Linked DNA regions of Homo sapiens: all the other regions are linked to region 3. Evidence: promoter capture Hi-C in 16 types of primary human blood cells and fetal thymus (Javierre and others, 2016). All regions are on one chromosome and are shown on one strand. The core of a region is centred on a gene start or on the middle of the fragment in contact, and the rest is flanking DNA. Distances in the headings are between cores, read along the strand shown. Region 1 has its middle 79 kb from the start of DSC3. Region 2 overlaps DSC3 (desmocollin 3). Region 3 holds the start of DSG4 (desmoglein 4). Region 4 overlaps DSC2 (desmocollin 2). Region 5 overlaps DSC3 (desmocollin 3).

Region 1 (2,700 bases), core at 172-2,671, 410 kb after region 3:
TAAATGGTTCTTCGTTCTGGCTACATAGTGAAACATCTTGGGGATCTTTTTAAACTTACAGATTCCTGGGCTCCACTCTGGATGAATTAAATCAGAATCTGGAGGTCTAGAACCTGGCATTGGTATTTACAAAAAAAAACCCCAAGGGATTGTACTATGCAGCAAGTTTTGAGAACCCACAGCTCAGCTTATGATAGTTACATCAGAGATAAAGAGTGGGAGTTGAATTTGAGGCATTTTTAAGGTGTGAATTTCAGAGCAGTGTATATACATTACTGTATGTAAGAATACCCAGAAGATCTTGAAAACTACAGATTCCGAGTCAATAGGTCTGAAGTGAGGCCTGAGATTCTGCATTTCTAACAAGCTCCCAGGTGATGTCAAAGCTTCTTGTCCTTAGACCATACCTTGTGGAGGAGGATTATGCATTTTGCATAGGGGAGAGAGGGAGAAAAAACATCAAGAATGATTTATTAATTCTGACATTGGTGACTAAGGGAATCTGATCATAAGAATTTAGAGAAAGATCATGAACTCAGTTTTGAACATATTGAGTGTAAATGTGCCCATGAAAAATCTGAGAGAACATGCAAGTTCTATAGCTTGGAGGAGGTGTCTGTACAGGAGACAAAGATGTGTGCATCATCAGCCTTCTGAGAACAGTTGAACCACAGGAGTTGATAAAAATGCCTGGGTATAGTGTGGAGTGTGAGGTGGGCTAAAGACAGATCCTGAGAAAAGTAAGAAGAGAACACTAAGGTGAAAAAATAAGATTTTTCCAGGATATAGGAGGATAACCAGTAGGATGATATGTCATAGAAGCCAAGGGAAGAGAGAGGAATTCAATAAGAGAGCAATCAACTCTGACAAAGTCTGCTTGAGAGTCCCCATAAGATTACTGAAAGAGGCCCATGCAATATCGCAATAAAGAGGTCACAGATGAACCTAGTGAGAGTGGCTCTGGAGTCCTTGTTCTGGAAAGCCGACCACTGTGAGTGGACAAGTGGATGAGTACCTGGAGGCAAAGAAGTATTAAAAATAGGACCGTATTTCTTAGCCATGCTGCCTGGGCTGTGGAGGGAAGAGGAAGAGATAGATGGTAGAGGTAGTCTCAGGGGGCTAGGGAAGGTTTCTTTTTGTTTTCTTGGTTTTTTTTTTTTTTTTTTTCCTTTTACTAACTAGATTTGGCATTAATTTTGATCATCTCTCTTTCTAAGAGTAGGTTTATTATCTCTTTTATTTGATTTCGGCCTGACTCATTATCTTAGTTTACACTCTGCTCCTAGTTTAAGTCATTAAATACATCCTTAACATCTTCCTGTTACTAATTCTGTCCTTAGTTTTGAGTATAAATTGTTCACAAATGGCCTTTAAATTCTTTCAACATTGACAGTCTACCCTGTTCCCTGGTTCCCAGCTTCCCTGACTATTTTTGTTGCCTCTTCTCATGCAAGTCTACCTCAGAACATCTGTTCTCAGTACTTTCTTTGTCTCTACTGAACCTGAGCTGGTAGTAATTTCCTTACTCAGGGCTGCTCTTTTTACCCAGAGTTCTATAATCTAACACATTACAACAGATTTTTGTCCTTGATTGTATATCAGAATCACTTTAAAAATACAGATGACTGGGCTTCACCCAAAGTCATTTAAATCAGAGCCCCTGAGGTGGGCCTTGGGCCCCAGCATGTATTTCTTGTGTGTGGTTGATGTGGTGCAGAAAGTGCTACCCCAAAATAGGGCTCTTTGGCATTTGAGGAACCAGCAGAAGCAGGAAGGCCACTCTCACTCTTCCTCCTCCATTATCCCCTGAAGCAGGTCATAAGACCTAGGAAACCTCTCCCATCTATTCCGCTGCTTCTCCTCTGAACACCCTCATTTGAAAGGTGTCCTGCCCTAAAACCGGAGGAAAGGCATGTCACTCAGAAACACCAAGAAGGATCTGGACAAACAAACCTTGTCAACTTCCCTTCAATTTCTTACCATTCAAACTTCTGCATGACTGTCCATAACAATACATGGTTTTCCCTGGGTCTTTCTGTCTTCATTTTTGAAGGCTGCCATGACATGAACAACTGCCTTTTGTCATGAGGAGTCAGCAATGCACCTTATGATGGGTGAGAAAAAAATCTGTTCTCCTCTACACAATCAGGTTTGAGAAGCACTGCTTTATAGGCGGTGGAACGTTGTTTCTTCTGCACAATTCAAAGAAAACCAAAATACCTATTTTAACAAGTTAACAGATTTCTTCATCTATATCTAGATGAACATATTGATCTTAGGAATGTTATTTTTATAATATCACAAAAACTTATTGAAGGAAGACAGAATTATTATAAGCAGAAAGTGTATGGCTAGGATAATTCCTGGAAGGAAGTGTGAATTAAGACAGGAAGGGGAAATGAGGGAAACGTCTGGAAACAATGTCTCAAGATTGAAGAGACTAAACAGAAGCTTGGAAAGATACTAGTATCAAACCAGAAGGACCTGGAAGAGTGACAATGAAACTGTAGCTAGGATAGGGGTCCAGGGGAGACAGATGATTTTGTAGAATTCCATATTTATAATAGGGAGAAGCAAGTTAGCTTAGAGTTTCAGGTGGCTGTTAGGAAACAACTCTCTCCTCCAAACATGAAGTTATATCTGAATCACTGACTGATATAATTTTGCTTTCATCAAGAACTCAAGAAATATTCAGGCTGG
Region 2 (2,700 bases), core at 80-2,579, 350 kb after region 3:
TAATGGAACTTTCTTTTTGCTATTTTGCAGTTGATTGCTTATGCGTCAACTGCAGATGGATATTCAGCAGATCTGCCCCTCCCACTACCCATCAGGGTAGAGGATGAAAATGACAACCACCCTGTTTTCACAGAAGCAATTTATAATTTTGAAGTTTTGGAAAGTAGTAGACCTGGTAAGTCTGCTTTTAAGAATAAAAAGAATCATTTTAAATATGTCTGTGTACATTTTAAAAGACATAGAGCTTTTTATACTCAAGGCCAGATCAGCCTGAGATAACGCTGAACTAGAATCTACTTACCAGAAAACACTTAATCCCATCACTTTCAATCAACATGTGCCTTGCCCAGATAGTACAGAAGTTTCTGTCATTGTCAATATGATACTAATTAACTGTAAAGGGAGCTAACAGTTATTCAAGCTTTGTGTAATATTCAGTTTATATATTTTATTTCATTTCCTCGTGGGTTTTTCATTATTCTCAACTCCAAGAGAGGACATGCAGGGTGGAATGAACAATAAAACTAAAATCGGTATAGTTTTTTTCTTTGAGCTTTTATTTAGGAAGGTGTTAAATGACATCCACTAAGGGTACAGTTTTTTTTATGCTCCTATTTATATTATCTTCTTTTAAAACTACTACCTCACTACTTCCAATTTAGAATGAATACCGGAATAACTTCAGAGAAACTTACATCAAATGTTCTCTATTCTAAACACTTGCTCTTACATGTGGAAAACTGAAGTATTTTAGTTTACCTGGCCCTTAAAATGTGGCACTTACGATGGCTTCTGAGACTTGTAATATGGAGAATAACCCCTCACAATAAAGTTAAAAGAAGGAGGATTCAGTCATAAAGGATGACTTTCCTAATTTGCTTTTTAAAGTTTCCAGTAGTTGCTTAGATCTTCACTGCAATATTATATCTGCTTTTTCCCTTTATGTTTTCCTTTGTTAATCTGATGTCATAGATGTTAACCTCTTTATTACTCACGTGGTACAATTTTAAAAATTTAAAAAAATTATTGGTTTGGAGTTTAGGAAACCTAGTTTTGTTTCTTTTTAAATAAATTTTATTGTGTGTAGTGAAGGTTTACAACATGATGTTATGGAATACACACAGATAATAAAATGGCCACTAAAGCATAGAAAACATCGTTTTTGATGTAGGGTGTGTTACTAACTCACTGTGGAAACTCATGGAAGTCCCTCTGAGTTTTCTTACTTGTAAAAGGAGTTCATTACATTACATGACCTACAATGTTTTTAGCCTCACAATTCTATGACATTACATTGACATTATATTGCCTTTAATTAATTAGCAATGGGGTATGCTTTCCCTTTTTCAAAAAGGGGTAATTAGTTTCAGGCTTTCTTGAGGAGTCTGTTCTCTTTTACAGTAACAGAGAAAAAAAAAGGACAAACACTTCGATGCCCAGCTTAACCCAAGGTACTTTAAGCACATTTTATCAGTAGGTTCAGACCAGTTAAGGCTGTGATACTAAACCGGTTTATTAAAACAAATCAAATCAGGAAGTAGCAAAAAGATTATAGAAAGGAGAGGCTGGACTACTAAAGGTCAACTTGATCATCTATATTATTACTGCATACCCCTAATCAGTCTTGATTTAGCTATTAATCAAAAGTCCAATTTTTAAAAAATCTGATTATTAAGGAGACATGGTTTATTCCTCCATCTAGGTTTGTTATTGAAATATGTGCACATATGTATTCCAATTAATTTTGATTGCCATTTAACTAATTTATTTAGTGATTTATGATCAAATGTGTTAAACTGTGAGCAAAAGTATACCTTAATTTTCAGCATCAAAGTGTTATGTGTGATAAATTTGAAGTTATCCTCTTCAGTCCTATCTAAAGATGAAATAATACTCTGGTAATAAATACATTTTAGATTAGGTTTCTATCATCACTGTTAACATTTTAAGATTGTAGATACTTTTGAAAGTATATTTAACAATTCTGTAAATTAAAGGCTGTTTTATTTTTTAATGTGTAGGTACTACAGTGGGGGTGGTTTGTGCCACAGACAGAGATGAACCGGACACAATGCATACGCGCCTGAAATACAGCATTTTGCAGCAGACACCAAGGTCACCTGGGCTCTTTTCTGTGCATCCCAGCACAGGCGTAATCACCACAGTCTCTCATTATTTGGACAGAGAGGTAGCTCACACACTCCATAGAATTTCATTTCGCTGAGGATTAAGCTTCCCTCCCCCATTTATTATAACTTGCTATCCTGTGGATTAATAGTTTAATTTTATTTTAGGCATAAGACAATAAGAATTCCTAACAATTTTTTCTGTTTTTTATATTATTTCTATTTCCTTATGTTAGAGTAGCCATAAGGACTAGAAACGCAGATCAATTGGCATTTAGAAGGGATGAGAAAAGAAAAAATTTCATTATAAATTTTTTTTTCTTATGTGTGGCTAGTTGGTTCCAGTTCAGCAAAGGTTTCAATTTTCATGTAGGACAATTAATTTTGCTTGTTCTATGAGTGTGGATCATGCCCTGATTTCTACTTTAATTATTATAGATATATATACTTTTAGTGAGGAAAGGATTAGTTGAAATAAAATTGATGGATTATTAAAAATATGAAACACTTTTTTGGATGATAGTAATAGCATATTGTCATGTATCTAGTGCTTTATATTGAACTTCTTAATGCA
Region 3 (2,700 bases), core at 34-2,533:
CTGCTCTTGAAGTTTAGAAATGTGAATTCCAGAAGAGTAGCTCTCACTGTGCCTCTTGGACAATGACGTGCTCCCATCTCTCCCAGCCCTAGCTACTCTCTGTCTCTTACAACTGATGTTCAGAGGAGTCTGGTATAATTGCCACTTGCCTAAGAATAGGATGGGAATCACTTTCTAAGCTTAGGTTGTAGCGCTAACCTGGATACTCCTGGGAGATTGAAGTGTGGCCAACTATAATGCATTTGTCTTAATTTACTTTGAAAAATTTGTACAGTTCCTAATAATCCTGTCCTCTTACCCTCCCAGAATTGGCAATAGTTTGTTGATTGGCCAACTGGAACTTTGTTCTTCTTTGGAGTTGGAATTATCTCTTTCTAGGGTAGGATATTTGCTATGCATGCTGCCTGTCTGGAAATCATGTCACACCTTGGGCACCCAAAGGTTAGAGGAAAGAAATATAATATCCAAGATGCCATGTTTACTGTAAAGAAATAAGTCATTTAAATATTTCTTTGCTGGTCTGTAGGAATGCATTCATAATTCCAGAAAAGTTTTGTCTTGATGGCTGGGCTTCATTTTTCTTTAGCAATATCTGACTGGAAAAAGTTCTCATGACTTTAGTATGTCATCATTAGTTGCAATGTAATTTCAACATGGCTATCATTCCTCCACTTTGAAAGAAACTCATAGGGAAATAACTATTGAAAAGAAATGGGTTTGATTAACTTCCCTTCAAATTTAGAACCCATTTGCACTGGCAGTTTTCACAGCAATCTATCTGATTTATTTATATGATCATAGAATATGAATTTTATTTCCAATTTAAAATTTTAGAATAGTCCTAACACTCAAAGTGAAGTAGATTATGTCTCTGAGGGCATATAAATTTAATTCAGCCAGATTCTCACCCCGCTTCTCTATGGCATTTTGTTCCTCAAGGCGGAGAGAGTTGTTTGAAATTAACAGAGGCTGGACTTCTAGAACTCTCTTTGCAGGAAGGAGATTAAAAATGGAATAAATCCCATGTAGAAAGCCCGACAGTTGACAGAGACAAGACCTTGAGGCTGCATTTCCTTCCCACCTCTTTAAATTCTACTTACCATTAGAATGATCAAAAGGCAAATGTTTCTGAAGAAGAGCCAATCCATTCCTTTGGGTTTCTCTTGCACGCAAATCCTGTGAGATTCAATTTGAGCCCTCGTCTTCTCAGTTCCGAATTCTGCTCTACAGAAAGATATGCTTTGAGACACCCTTTTAGGAGGGCATGGGTGATAACTGTGGTGATCTCTGGGCAGAGAGATGAAGATATTCTATAATGACTGTTTCCCCACCCCAAACTCCCAGGCTGGTCTGGAAGACTGGCATTGTTTGGGCTCTGGGTAAGAATTTAGACACACCTTGATTCTTATTGCAATGAAACCCTTTGTTGGACACCAAAGAAAAACCTTACAGAGCGAGGACAAGATTTACAGGGAAGATAGCCAGTGAATAATAAATTACTCACAACATAAAAAATAATTAAAATGCTAGGGCCTATCATCATGCTGAATAAAATTAGAAGGCTTCTTCTTACTGCCAACATTGTAAAAGCAAAATTACATATACTGACAACACATACACACACATGTCCACTGCAGAACCCACTTCAAGGAATGATACTTTTAGCAGAGGCCATTGTTGAAAGTCATCAGGACTCAAGTATGGTATAGGAAGAAAGATAGAATAATGACGCTCATTTCAATTCAGTTGAGTCCTGCTTCTCTCTTTAAAATGTCTTGTGGTTGAACCGCACTCTCAATTTTAAAGATTTTCTGAAATAACAAAGTTAAGATGAAGGAACTCTGATTTAACTAGTACCAGTATGTTTGTTTCCATACTTTGGCATTTTCTTTCTTGATTATTCAGTCAAACCTCTACAATATGATATTTACAAAATCATTTTAAAGTAACTACAATACAACATTCTCACTTCTCATAGTATTACCACTGATAAAAAGTACATAATGTGGGTGAGGAACACATTTTACACCACCACAAATATTTATTAAGGAGAAACTGAAGTTGGAAACGTGAGAATTTAATGAAAAAAAGCCCAGAGTGGGATCTGGATATTTTTGAATATTATTTCCCTTTTTCGTGTCTCCCTTTTCCTTTGTTAGTATGGGTTTGAAACAGGGTATAGAGTGTCCTGATGCAAACATTGCAGGCTGGCAGCAACATCAATAAACTTAAAAGAAAATGCAGTTAACTGTTCTCTGATTGATAGATAATACATGTTGGTTGGAGAATTTCAAAGGGAGACTGCCTCCTGTCTTCACTATCCCATCACTGTAATTCAGAAACAAGGTTGACCCTGGTAATAGAATGTATTCTAAGTATTGCTTAGTTTCTTGAGAAAAGTAGTTTTAGTATTTTTGGAAGCCAGATAAAGTAATTTACTTTTGCATTATTTCATGTCATGTTGAATTAGATAATTTAATTTGCCTAAGAGAATTAATGAAACAACTCCAGGTCTTTAAGTGACATTGCTTTTTACAAGGGAAAAACAACATTCTTCTCTATTGTTGTGTTTGAAGGAGATATTTCACAAAGGTCTCTATCTTTTGTTTACACTATAGATGATTTCTTCTACATATAAGATTTTTCTTATATTTTCTTCTAAATATAAGATTTTCTATCTACTTGAATGCTATTTATAGG
Region 4 (2,700 bases), core at 6-2,505, 320 kb after region 3:
TTTTGGTCTTAAAATTTTACTTTAACGCACTTAGGATTTGTCGTCAGTAATTTGTTATGCACTATCTAGACTAAGAATAGGTATTAATTTACTAGAATTGTCAAATGAAATATTTCAAGCAAAGTTTGCATAATGAATGCAAGTTTAAACCAATTAAATGTGTTCACTTTTTAGCAAGCTAAGCTGCTCCTTATTTCTCCTGTAGTAGACACAATCACAGTTAATCTTTGCACAATGCATCGCATTCTCCATGCAACCTAACAGAGCGGTCTGGGATAGAGCCTGAACTTTGGGTCCCTTGGGGCCCAACAGGCAAGGTTCAGATCTGGGCTCTACCACAAACCATCTGTGTAACCTGAACCTCCCTAGTCTTCAGTTTCCTCATCTGCTTTAAAAAATTGCTAGAACATAGTTCTATGTAAATGTTCGGTGTTAAAATTTATTTGGTATCTACTGTATGTAAGATATGGCCTCTGCTCTCAAAAATATGTAGTCCCAGAAGTGATATAATATGTTCACGGAGACGTACTATTAAAAAGTGCCACAAAAAATCTGTAATGGAATGTTCTTACAAATATTACGTGTGCGTGTGTGTGTGTGTGTGTGTGTGTGTGTGTGACCTTTTTTAGCAAGAGATGTCCCAATCCCTTCACATTTACATCATTACAGAATTCCTTTGGAATCAATGGCAAATGTCCTCCTGTGGGGAGCCAGGTGTACTGTGAGTTTCTGTTATCATTCAGGGAAGAAAGCTGTCAAAAGCTTGCTTGTTTTAAAATTGTAAACAAGTTAGTGCTGGACATTGGGAATTTTACCTTATTATAATAAACAAAATCAATTTTGTTACTTGTTGAGCCTTGTTCCGGCGGCAGTTTAAGTTATTTATTAAACAAATAAATTGAGTCCTTTTGAGGTTTCTTCTTAAGTTTTCTTAGGGCAGGTTTGGTGGAGACTTTAGGGCTAACTTAAGTCCTTTGCTGAGGTGTGACTCCACCAAATGTCCAGAGTTTTCAGAGGAAGATCTTTTCTTTCCACTGCCTCAAACTTCAATAAGTTTGCTACTCACTTAGATGCCTTATGTGCATGGGGCTTTCTGTGGAAAACAAGAAATGGAGGCTGTATTTCACACCTGGGGTGTTGCAGTGTGGAATCGGGTGGAGCTCTCTAGGAATATGTAACAGAAAATTGAGTTAATCAAGAGGAAGGAAGAGATCAGAGCGGTGTGTAGGCAGAAAACTACAACAGGCTGTCTAGAATACCTAGACAGTCCGGGAGCACTCTAATATCCCTCCACACAGGGAATGGGACACAGCCTATTTCATTTGAATCTGAATTATAGGATTAACAAAAGTGAGCACTTGGGAAAGGAACCTCCGGCCATACTTCTAGTCATTAATAACCATCTTTATCATACTAGTAATACTGCAGCAGATGAAATTAACATTTTAAAGACAATAAGTTTTTTTTTCACAATAACTCTCCCTTTCTGCAGAAATTTCCTATTAGAAGAGCTGATACAGGTTTAGTGGTGTTCGAAGTCCTACTTATTCCAGTTTAAAGGTCAATCTCAGTGCGGTATGATATCTGAAAGAAATACAAATCTAAACCCAAAAGTTTTAAAAACATAATGCAGTTACTACATGCCTTCTAGTAAGAAAACTAGCAGAAAAACACAGAGTTAATAATGTGTTTCATACTTATGTCATAGCAAACACAAAGTTAACATACTTATGTCATAGCAAAGCTTCTCAAAGGCAACAGAAGGCAAATTTGGTTATCTCGGGAGTGTGAGAGAATGTATTGGAAGGATATCAGAAGTTTACAGATTCGATAGGCATGCAGTGAAATAGGAAGCAGAAACAATAGATACTGTCTTATAATGAGGGCAATACAGACAATCTCCTGTTTTAGTTGTCCTCATTATGGTGGTTGAAGTTTCTTTGCAAAAATAAAAGAAAGAAAATCCCAAATACCAGTCATTTTCAGTTATGTTAATGCAACTCACACAAAATTTTTATACAATCATCAGTTAATTTAAATTCCTCTTTGTTGCCTAACACATAGAAATCTTATGAAGATACATACGATTATAAGAACGCTTCTACATAATAAAAATAATCCTGAAACCCTCTGTATGGTTGATGGATTCATAGTCTCACACGGCTGTAAACAATAAGGTCTAGGATGATGAAATAATTTGGATGCTTTCCTGGAGACCAGAGCAGGATTTAACTCGCAGATACAACTTCATTTTCTACAATTATAATTAGATATGCTATTTCTTCCAAGAATAACGTTAATAATTTTAACCCTGCAATACATTTTAGGTTTAAGCAGAAAAGAAAAAAAAAGGCAACACTTTCAGTTTTAATCATTTTTTTAATTAAAACGTTAACATTTCTAAACATTTTCTTTAAGAGAAAGGGATTGAGGATTAGGCATTTGTGCCCTCTGCATTAAAATATGTTTCATCTTGGAACAGCACATTTAAATAATGTTCTAAAGCTTTTGAAAAAGCAGACTGGAAAACTAGATTCATTATGTTGCACCTAATTGTCCTCTTAGCATTCTAATACAATGCTAAGATAAAGCTTAACACTATAGATGGACTTTCATATTTTCTTTTATTGAGCAATGAAAATGATGTTGCTCTAAAACTGTGTTACTTTGGCTGAATAGCCAAGAAATAATAAGCAAAAT
Region 5 (2,700 bases), core at 55-2,554, 380 kb after region 3:
TTTCTTATTCACTATTTCTCTCTTCAACTCCTCCACACCACCATGCAAAATCATAGCCCATCTATGCTTGACGTGCCTACATGTAGAAACCTGTGATGATCTCTCCAGCGAGAAAGCAGGTTTAATCCCTTGACAGTCCTTGACTCATAGTAAGTTCTTATTTTATTTTTAAGACCGGCATGGATGACTTTTACTTAATATCTGTTCTTTGCCATTTAATGCTAGAGCTGATGATATTGAGTGGCCATTTCACAATATGTACCTGTTCTGTGTTAGGAACACTTCTAAAAGGGGCTTGGAATTATTAATTTATACAAAAACATAAAATTTCATCTTGAATCTATAAACTTGCTTTAATACAATGAGTAAAAGTGATCATTTTAGCTTTGGATCTGAATTTCACTTGAAGGCATGCACATGGGATTAGGAGTTGGGTGAATAATCAGGACTGGAAAAGTAAACCTAGAAATTATTGACATGGATAAAGAGTTGTTGATACCCTGTGAGAAGGAACTTTGGGAAATGTGGATGGAGGAGGACAGAAAGGAGCAGAGAATAAAAGTATGAAAGCTAGCCCTGTAGGCTCAGCATTGCTTTTAGTTTATTTTAAATTCCTCTTTTATTCACTTAGAAATATGATCTTTGAACTTGTGTTTATTACAACGAAATTATACCATCAAGAAGATTTAATAATTAGGAGGGTTTTTTTTTTTCCTTTTTTGTAATTGAATTTTATTGTAATGGCAACTTAAATAAAAAAATGTAGGGTAGCACTGCCACCAAATGGCTACTTTTCAATTCTTTTTTTCTGGTATTTTTTTCTAAGGCAATGCGACAGTAAGTATGACTTTTGTAGATATATTTCAGGTTCAATAAATCATCTGTATTTGAAAAATCTTTCAATTTAGTTAAAGACTGCATTTTAAGTAGAAAAAAATTTAAATTGATAGGAAGGTGGCACAAAGGAACCTGAATGTAATGGAGGTTCTTGTCCTGAAAGTAATGTAACTGTTTGTAATGAAAACTGACATGTCGAGGTTACCACTGTAACTAAACTTCTGTCCTATGGCTCAGAGGGTCGGAGTGAAGTTCCAGTATTAAGTTAATGTTTAATGAAGACTTTTTCATTTTAAAGCATTTCCTTGACTCTTTGTCATCCTCTAGTTCCCTCCACATCTCTCTTTTTCTTTCAAACTGAACTTTAGGAAAGAAAAAATTATATTTGATTTCTCTATAATACTCCTTCCTGCTTACCCAGCACTCCCTGGAAATTCTTTTGGCAAAGCTCATCAATGGCTATTCTTTCACTTAAATCCAATGGGCGCTTATACTTTAATTGAACCCATTCTTACCTTGCTGTGATTTTTCTGTTGTTGTTGTTAACATCATTGGCTGCTCCCACTCCTTACCATATTCTCTCTTCATGGCTTCAGGGTCCTGCCACTTTGGTTTTCTCTGTTATCTCAGTGGCTATTCAGATCTGGCCTGTCACAGCTGTGTTTCTCTTACCCTCCCCTTAAAATGTGATTTTTCTTGTGGTTCTATCCTTAGCCCTTTTTTATTTTGGTTGACAATTTTCTCTGGATAGGTCCTCTATTCCCATGGCCTCAACTATCACCTATTTGGGAGTGTCTCCCAGAATTATATCTCCAGCTCAAATCTCTCATCTGAGTTCCAAATCCGCATATTCATATATTCATCTTGGACATCCCACATGTTTCTAATGTTTACCATGTTCAAACTTTAGTTGCTCACTCTCCTCTTGCCCATAAGCACATCTTTCCTCCCTGTTTCAGTGAGTTGTACCATCTACCTGTTTGCCTTCATGGAACACAAAAGAATAATTTCTAACTCTGTCCTTGATTGCCTCATCCATCTAGATACTTGTAGGCTCTCTGTGGAGTCCATCTACTTCTTTCAGTCATCACTGCTTCCTCCTTGGCTTAGGTCCTTATCATTTTTACCTGGAATATCAGATCAGATCAGATGCAGTGACCCCCATCTGATCTCCATGAACTTAAATTTGTCTTCTTATTTGTCTTCCACATTATTGCCTAGAATGATATTTTTGAAATGTGTTTCTCTCTGTAATGAGTTAAAATTCTTCACAGTCCCTGTGATCTTCATAATAAAGTCTATTTTTTTAGCATAGCATATAGATCTTTATATCTTATGGCCTTTTATAACCTTTCTAACTCCCCCCAACCCTAATCTTATGTGGTAGCTGTTCTCAACTGATTGAAGTTGGGGACCCCTGAAGGACATTGTTTGCCTTTTGCCTCCAGACCCTTCTACAGTGGTTGCCTTGTTTGTCCCACTCCTACTAGTCCCTAGTCTCTTAGCTCAGAGTTTTTCCAGTTACCTGTTCTATTCCACCTACCCTGTTTGGATTTGAATTTTAATGCTCTACTTCTGTGCTCTTGTAACATTTTGTGCTCACCCACATAGTAGAGTAATCACATTCTCAAAGTATTTGTTTTTCTCTCTCCCTGGAATAAGATCTTCTTGGAGCCATCGAGAGACTATGTCTATCTTTATATCCCTAGGCTTTTGCATTTGCTATGGTGAAATTTGTCCCTAAAAGCTGATATGTTGGAAACTTAATCCCCAATGCAACAGTGTTGAGAGGTGAGACCTTTAGTAGGTGATTAGGTCATGAGGGCTCTGCTCTCATGAATGGATTACTGTCCTTATCATGAG

Evidence for each region. The method cuts DNA at HindIII sites, captures the fragments that hold promoters and counts their contacts. A CHiCAGO score of 5 or more calls a contact.
Region 1: a fragment that was not itself captured here is called in contact with the fragment with the promoter of DSG4 in region 3 in 1 of 17 cell types (monocytes); the score reaches 7.1 in monocytes.
Region 2: a contact is called between a fragment that was not itself captured here and the fragment with the promoter of DSG4 in region 3, in 3 of 17 cell types (M1 macrophages, monocytes and M2 macrophages). The highest score is 6.2, in M1 macrophages.
Region 4: a fragment that was not itself captured here is called in contact with the fragment with the promoter of DSG4 in region 3 in 1 of 17 cell types (monocytes); the score reaches 5.1 in monocytes.
Region 5: a fragment that was not itself captured here is called in contact with the fragment with the promoter of DSG4 in region 3 in 1 of 17 cell types (M0 macrophages); the score reaches 5.4 in M0 macrophages.

The regions. Positions count from the first base shown.
Region 1 is chr18:30,962,502-30,965,201 of GRCh38, reverse strand. No RefSeq gene overlaps it. Among named protein-coding and RNA genes, the nearest start is that of DSC3, 79 kb to the left of the region's middle. The HindIII fragment of the contact is 2,065 bases long and covers 389-2,453 here.
Region 2 is chr18:31,021,824-31,024,523 of GRCh38, reverse strand. DSC3 (desmocollin 3) reads left to right here. Exons shown (of 16, transcript NM_001941.5): 6 at 31-175; 7 at 2,022-2,188. Among named protein-coding and RNA genes, the nearest start is that of DSC3, 20 kb to the left of the region's middle. The HindIII fragment of the contact is 1,811 bases long and covers 424-2,234 here.
Region 3 is chr18:31,375,360-31,378,059 of GRCh38, reverse strand. DSG4 (desmoglein 4) reads right to left here and starts at 1,283. Exons shown (of 16, transcript NM_177986.5): 1 at 1,101-1,283. The coding sequence starts at 1,148. The region is part of intron 1 of DSG1-AS1 (DSG1 antisense RNA 1); the gene reads left to right. The HindIII fragment of the contact is 4,758 bases long and covers 182-2,700 here.
Region 4 is chr18:31,056,691-31,059,390 of GRCh38, reverse strand. DSC2 (desmocollin 2) reads left to right here. Exons shown (of 16, transcript NM_024422.6): 16 at 1-551. Among named protein-coding and RNA genes, the nearest start is that of DSC3, 15 kb to the right of the region's middle. The HindIII fragment of the contact is 982 bases long and covers 765-1,746 here.
Region 5 is chr18:30,997,463-31,000,162 of GRCh38, reverse strand. All of the region lies in intron 14 of DSC3 (desmocollin 3), which reads left to right. Among named protein-coding and RNA genes, the nearest start is that of DSC3, 44 kb to the left of the region's middle. RefSeq lists an enhancer at 2,403-2,700. The HindIII fragment of the contact is 2,840 bases long and covers 1-2,700 here.